Regions from separate parts of the Homo sapiens genome. Here region 1 is linked to region 2. Evidence: promoter capture Hi-C in 16 types of primary human blood cells and fetal thymus (Javierre and others, 2016). All regions are on one chromosome and are shown on one strand. The core of a region is centred on a gene start or on the middle of the fragment in contact, and the rest is flanking DNA. Distances in the headings are between cores, read along the strand shown. Region 1 holds the start of NR1H4 (nuclear receptor subfamily 1 group H member 4). Region 2 holds the start of GAS2L3 (growth arrest specific 2 like 3).

Region 1 (3,653 bases), core at 873-3,372, 100 kb before region 2:
GGGAGTATCCAGTCCAGTGGGCAAATACGATTGTCAGTGTGAAGGCCCAGAGAAAATAATAACAGCTAACCCCTACACAGCACTTTCTGTGTGTCAGGTACCAGCGCTTTGCATAGATTAATTCATTAAATCCTTGCAATAACCTCATGAAATACATAGTAATTATATCTTTATTTTACAGATGGGGAAACTGAGACAGATGTTAAGGAAAAGCCTAAGGTCTAAGGTCACACAGCTTGTAAGTGGCAGAGCTGGGATTTGAACCCAGCCGGTCCAGCGCCACAGTCTGTGTCTTCAGTCATTGTCTCCATCTCTGCTGGAGAGAATGAAATCACAGTACAGGCTCTTATCATCCAAGAAGAAATGGGCTTGGTGTCACATAGAAGTCACACAGGAGTCCCTCAGGCAGCCCAGAGCTGCAGAGTGCAGTAAGTGTCAGTGCAAACTCTCTTCAAAAGAAAATGTACAGGCCTGGGGTGACCCTCTTCCTTGTGCCGAAGGGGCTGGAGGATGCACCATAGTACATTGGGAACCCCCAGAAGTAGGTAGGAAGTAGGAGCCTGTAGGACCTACAAAAATGCTATTTTATAAGAGAAGCAAAATATAACATTTCTAACAGGTTTGAATGTAGATCTTCTACTAGCTGACCTTGTGACGGGAAACAAATGACACACATCACAGATGGGAAATGCACACATCACATACACACACACACACACACACACACACAGGTGCATGTGCAGCCATGCTGCTTTGGGAAGTTGTTTCTCAGCTCACTCATTGATTGCGTTAACAAAGAGTTACACAATGCTTTTTCTGTGAGAGGCACTGTGCTAAGACAAAGGGTAGATACAAAGACAAGTCTGCTACCATGCCTGGTTTTTGTAAAAGAGATAAAACAAGTAGAAAACTATAATATATAAGGTCAGAGGATTTAAGGGACAGCAAGGAAACTACAAATAAAAGATCAAGGGAGTTGGGTGGGGAGAATAGGGGCAGATGAGGAATGGGGCTGGCTTCAGGGAGAACTCTGCTTCTGTTCCACGCCTGGAAGATGTGTGGGTGTGAAAAGAAAGTAACTGAGGTAGAAGGAAGAGCTTGTGCAAAAGTGTGGAGGCGGGAGAGCTTGGTACAGGTTGGCAGAGGTTGGGATGTCTGAAGGGACAGAATGTGAGAAAATCCTAGAGACATTAGGGCTAGATCTTCAGGTGTGGAAGGGGTTCTAAATGTCAAGCATTTTGTGTTCGTTTTTTAGGCATAGAGAGTGCATTGGGGATTTTCGATGAGGGGAGTGCCTAGCAAGTTGCTGGGTACATAGTAGGCTGATAATCAATCAATGATGGTTCAACTAATGAAGGAGAGAAATAATAATTGCCACAAATTATTGGGTGATTGCTATCTGCCACACACTTTTCTAAACATTTTCACTACTCATGTAATTCTCACCACAGCCCATGAGATGGTTTCTCCATATCCATTCTACAGATGAGGAAACTGAGACTCAGAGAGGCTAAGTGTCTTGCTCAAGGCTGTGACTAAAGAGTGGGCATCTAACCAGAGCCTGTGCTTCCACACTGCTGTGCAATTTGGAAAACAGAAGAAGGGGAGAGAAGAAAAAGGGGTTGTGGGACCAATGTCATCCAGAAAGGAAGCTATGATAGGCCCAAAGTAGGAGAAGAACAATGTGGGTTGGAAATAAGAGACATTCCAAAGATGCAATCAACCCAAATCTGTTATTATTTGATATGGGTGGCTGGGCAGAGGGAAGGGTCAAAAAGGCTCCCAGCTTCTAGTTCAGTCCCGGGGAAGTGATAGAGCTATTCAAAGAAGTTGTAGTGAGAGAGAGGGAAGATGACAGTTTGGTTTTAGTTGATGTGTACAGAAATACGGGTGCCCAGGAGCCCACAAAACGGCCAGAGGAGAAATGCTTTCAAAGGCAAGCTGCAGGGCTCCTTGGTTTTGTCACATTCCTCATTCTGGGGCTTTGCGGTTTTGTCTTGGGAATCTCGAGGCTCTCCCAAGGTTCCTTTCTATGTTTATATCATTTAGCAGGGAAGGATTGTTAATGACTAATCTGTGTCCATGAGGCACAGAGCCAAGGAAGAGATGCTGCTGCTAGCCCAGAAGGCCGCCTGTGATCATGCACAGTACACTGGAACTCTCTCCTCCTCCTCACCTCATTGTCTCCCCGACTTATCCTAATGCGAAATTGGATTCTGAGCATTTGTAGCAAAATCGCTGGGATCTGGAGAGGAAGACTCAGTCCAGAATCCTCCCAGGGCCTTGAAAGTCCATCTCTGACCCAAAACAATCCAAGTAAGTACCTAATTCCTTTGGGAGTGGGTTGTGTATCTCACAGCAACAGAGAAAAAATAGTCACTTAAAAGTTTCTCTTTGACATCTGTAATGTATGTCAATAAATGAATTCTAAGTTAGTAGAGTTTGATGTAAAGTCCTGAAAATTAAAAAAGAGAGAAACTAAAAAACAAAAAGAAGCAGAAGCAAAAGTTAATGAGTCTTAACAGTTGCTTACCTATTGAAAACTTATTTAGAAATACTCTTTTAACATTGTGGTCACCTGAGTAAATCACTGGAGATAGTGCATTTCAGAAATGTCTCCGTTCTGATTCCATAAACAATTTGACTTGTATAGTGTGCTATATTTTGGTGATTTATCAAATCTTGATGTGAGTTTGGGAGTATTGCTAATGTCAGATGACTTGGGAACTAAGAATAAGACATTTAACCTATGCTTAATTGAAATGAAATTTTTCCCTAGAAGAAGAGTAGGTGGAAAAAGTCTTCTTTCTTGACTTCAGTTGTAAACTCTTCTATTGCTTTCCATTTTGAATATTAATATGACAGGAAATATCAGATGGAAATATTTTTAAAAGATAGAAATGTGAGTATGACGAAGAACTTTAGTAATAAAATTGTCCAAGGACTAAATTTATAGATAAGATACCTCTTTGTCTCCTTATTGACAGAGTGAATGGGGCAACTGTGGAGCCTGACTTACTTCTTTTAATTGGGTTTTTATTCAGAAGGGAGGGGCAGGAGGGAATGACAAGTGACTCACCTTGAATTCTTCCTCTAAGAAACTCACACCTGAGCTTTGAGCTATAAAGAAATCTGATGCTGTTTCTGGTGCTGTCTTAGAATCACTTCAGGAGTATTGACAAGAGGGGTAGGAACCCTTAGAAATAATATTAGTGATAAATAAGAAGGCAGGAAGAAACTTTTGGAGGTGATGGATAGGTTTATGGTATAGATTGTGGTGATGATTTAATGAGTGTATGCCTATCCCCAGACTCATCAAAGTGTATACATGGAATATGTAAAGCTTTTATATGTCAGTCACACCTCAGTAAAGTGGTTTACCTATCTATCTATCTATCTATCTATCTATCTATCTAAATTTTTTTTTCTGTTCCTAAAAAAAGGAAGGGAGAAGAGAGGAAAAGATGTTCAGGGAGCTACCATTTTGTTTCTAGCTGTGATTTTATAAAATGATAGACACTTTTATCTTTGTGTTACGTTCCTACCCCCAGTCCTCCAAATTATGGATCTGTGCCATTTGTACCGTGGACTTTTCTGTTTTCTGAGGATGTTGCAACAAATACTGATGCAACTCCTGGTTAACTGATAAAGTA
Region 2 (3,744 bases), core at 896-3,395:
TGCTTAGAATGGAGCCTGACACAGAAGATGTGTAAAATAATATTTGTTGAATTTACTTCTCAAATCTATATCTCCTACACAGACCAATTTAAACAGCTTCAGGTCTAACTTTATCTTCTGAACATCTCCACTTGCACACTCCTCTCACACTTCAAACTGAACACACTCCAAACCAAAATGCATTATTTTCCCCCACAGCCTGTTTTCCTTGTATTCTTTAGATTGGTACCATCATCAATCACATAATAACTAAGTCCAGATGAGTCAGCTTCTTAGGTATCACCAGATACCTCTTCCTCACCATCCCTTCTGAGATAATTTAGGTAACCGTCATCTTTTAATTTAAGGGATTGCCACCTGTCTTACTACCATCTTCAAACATCTGTGAAAATATTGTTTTTCCCCTAAAACACAAATCTGTTCCTACCAGTCCTTCCTTATAATCATCCCAATTGCCTGTGGGAAAGAAACTAAATTCCTCAGCATCTACCAGGCCTTTCATTTGTGTCTACTTCTCCCATCTGATCTGCCTCCCAATCTGCAGACTTCAGTCATTCAAAATGAGTATTCTCAGAACATTTCATGTACTCTCACATCTCTGGAACCTTGTCTTTGTTGCTCTCTCTGCCTGGAAATTAATTCTTATTCCCAGTTATCCCTCCCTCCTGGCAGAGTCTTAATTCATCTTTAAAAATTCAGCTCCTTTCAAACCTCTGCCATCACCCTTCAAGACTCTTAGGGGTTCCTTCTTTCATGGACCTCCACAGACTTCCATTTGGCCTTTACCATGCTGCTGAGCACTTTGAAGCCTAAGGCTGTTTTCATTTCAGTTTCTTTAGCAAGCAACAGTACATCTCATTGTTTTTGTTGAGTAAAGGAAGGAATAAATGCTAGAGAGAGATGTCATTCCAGTTCAGTGCCCACCATTCACAGATGGAGACCTGAGGCCCAGAGAGGAGACATGATTTGAGGAAGGCTAAAAGACTGAATAGGGCCGGGTGAGGTGGCTAACGCCTGTAATCCCAGCACTTTGGGAGGCCGAGGTGGGAGGATCACTGGAGCCCAGGAGTTCAAGACCAGCCTGGGCAACATGGCAAAAACCCATTTCTACAAAAAACACAAAAATTAGCCCGGTGTGGTGGCACAGGCCTGTAATCCTGGCTACTCTGGAGGCTGAGGTGGGAGGATCTCTTGAGTCCGTGAGATCAAGGCTGCAGTGAGCCGAGATCGTGCCACCGCACTCCAGCCTGGGTGACAGGGCAAGACCCTGTCTCAAAAAAAAAAAAAAAAAAAAAAAAAAAAAAAAAAGAAGGGCCTGGGCTGCAACACAGGCCTCGGGGACAAAGCCAGTGATTTTTTTAAAAAATTATTTATTTATTTATTTTATTTTTTGCTATGAAACAAGCCACATTTACAGATATAACCGACTTGGGATTGTTACACTGATGTCTAGTCTCGGCTTTATTTCAACCCTGGGAGCTAGTAAGCATCCCTTACGTTGAAGTTCATTGTTTTTTTGTTTTGTTTTGTTTTGTTTTCAGGCTCCGGTGTTTGCTGAAGAGTCAACATCCTCCTTTTGTGACTTGGGACTACAGGATTCCTCCTCATCCCTCCGCACCTGAGAAGAGGGGCCTCTCTCTGAAAGATTTCTGCTGAGGACCCCCATTCCTGCTGGGTTCCAGGCTGCGTCTCTGGAAACCGTGGCGCCCTCAGGTCAGCCAGCTCCCGAGTGGATGTGGGGTTGGGAGCGGCTCTTAACAGACCAGGATAAAACTCAGGGAAGCGCCTTCAGCTGCACCGCAACATTCCAGGACGCTCAGAAGCAATTATTACAGGCGAGGTTCATTCACCTCTCAGGCCTGTGGGAACAACAGGACGGGCTGTGGCTTTCGAACTGGCTGTCGCTGAAAGGCCAGATCGGAGGACCTGCTCTGACTGAACCACTTCGCCTTTCAGTGAACAGAGGGACTTGGCCACCGAAGCTCCGAGACGCCCGGAGGCGCAGCGCTGGACGCGCTGACAGGCGAGCGCCCACGGGTCGCGTGCTTCCCGGCAGCCCGGGGGCGGGGCCTCAGACCACGCCCCCGCCTTATGATTGGTCCCTTCGAAACAGGCGGCGGCCAGCGGCTACTGACCCTGAGGCCCAGGCGGCGGCGGCAGCGGCGGCGGTTGGTCAGGGGCGTGTTGGCCCCGCACAGATTGAGCCGAGTTGTCGCCCCGCTGGGAGAAGTGACCCTCCTGCGCCTGGTGAGTACTTCCCTGTTTGTCTTCTCTTTTCCTGGCGAACTTTTACGCGCTGTCTCGGGGCCTCCGCGCCTCAGCCTGAGGGCTCCAGGAGCCCCCCGCTCTCTGAGGCCCCGAAGCTGAGGTTTGTTGGGTCTCCCGGCTGCGGGAGCCAGTACGCTCTGCGTTTGCCTGGCTGCGGCAGTCGCGTGCTCTGATTGGCTCCTGGGGCCGTCAAGGTGACGTTGCGCCTGCCTTCACCTGTCCACCCAAGTGCGGAGAGAGGGGCGACAGGTGTGCGGGGCGGTTGGGGCTGCTGGTGTGGGCGAGCTCAGCTGGGGAGGAGGGATCCAGCCGCTACTCGCCCTGCTTTAAATCCAGAGCGGTATCAGAGCCCGAAGGTACTGTGGGATCTTCAGGGGCACCCTCATCCCTAAGCGCCTGGCACTTAGAGGGTCTGTTTTTTTCTGTTCATCATCCTCGGAAAGAATTGATGAAGTCTCTGGCCCTGCAAAGAGAAAGAGACAGACAGTTATTCTTGCCCTCTAGCAAGGTTTATAGGCTCTTCCCTGTTTTTTCTCCCAGTCCATGCAGGGTCTAGAACGCCCACATGTGCGGAACTGGGGAATAGAGCTGGAGACCCTGCGCGATGCCTTCCGCCCACAACCCTCAGTTTGGAGGACTGCCCGGGGAGAGGCTGGCAAAAGAAAGGGAAGGCTTGTAGAGTGCCTTGGAAGTCAGAGGAAAGTTTTGGAGGGCGTGCTCCTCTATGCAGTCACCCGTGGTTCCTTTCCTAATCTTTTCACACCGAGGGATTGAATGTTGTAAATTTGAGTGCTTTGTGGCATGGCATGGTGGAATAGCTGATCCCCAGTGGTTGCAAAGAGATGATTTTAGGTCAGAGCCTGGGTTTTGCTTCGCTTGTGTGAAGAGCAAAAAACAAACAAACAAAAACAACAAGAACAACAGAACCGCTTTGTGAATTGCTATCTGATCACCTGTCTTGGCACTTAAATGATTAGAAATTGAAATTCTCACCACCTCAGATTCCCTTTGGGAACAAATTGGAACTGTTTCAAATGACAGAAGTGGAAACTCTAGTGATCTGGTGTAGATGCCGATACCTGTTGTCTGACTCATCTGTTTCAAAATCTCATTAGAAACCAACTGTCATTGAACAGTAGGTGTTTGCTATCTGACATTGAATTAGAAGTAGTAATTTTTTTTTTTTTAGCGTGACAGAGTTGCTAAGCAGGGGGGCTCTGAAATCAGACTTCATTGGATATCTGACTTTAGACACATTATTTAATCCTTCTAAGCCTAAATTTCCTAGTCTGTGAAAGAAGGTTAATAATAGTTCCTACTTTATTGAGAGGATTGTTGTAAAGATTAAATGAAATTCCACGTAACTAATTTAGCACAGTGCCTGATACATAGCTATTATTATTTCTCTGCTGTTTAACTTAGACAAAAAGTTTTGAGCTCTCCCCAAAGGATGGGGAGAGGTAGAAGGTGAAGGCA

Evidence for each region. Contacts are between HindIII fragments. The CHiCAGO score rates a contact against its expected background, and 5 or more counts as called.
Region 1: a contact is called between the fragment with the promoter of NR1H4 here and the fragment with the promoter of GAS2L3 in region 2, in 2 of 17 cell types (neutrophils and total CD4 T cells). The highest score is 5.4, in neutrophils.

Annotation. Positions count from the first base shown.
Region 1 is chr12:100,471,744-100,475,396 of GRCh38, forward strand. NR1H4 (nuclear receptor subfamily 1 group H member 4) reads left to right here and starts at 2,123. Exons shown (of 11, transcript NM_001206979.2): 1 at 2,123-2,316. The HindIII fragment of the contact is 6,694 bases long and covers 1-3,341 here.
Region 2 is chr12:100,571,539-100,575,282 of GRCh38, forward strand. It overlaps GAS2L3 (growth arrest specific 2 like 3), which reads left to right and starts at 2,146. Exons shown (of 10, transcript NM_174942.3): 1 at 2,146-2,247. RefSeq lists a silencer at 1,991-2,120 and an enhancer at 2,151-2,440. The HindIII fragment of the contact is 13,205 bases long and covers 1-3,744 here.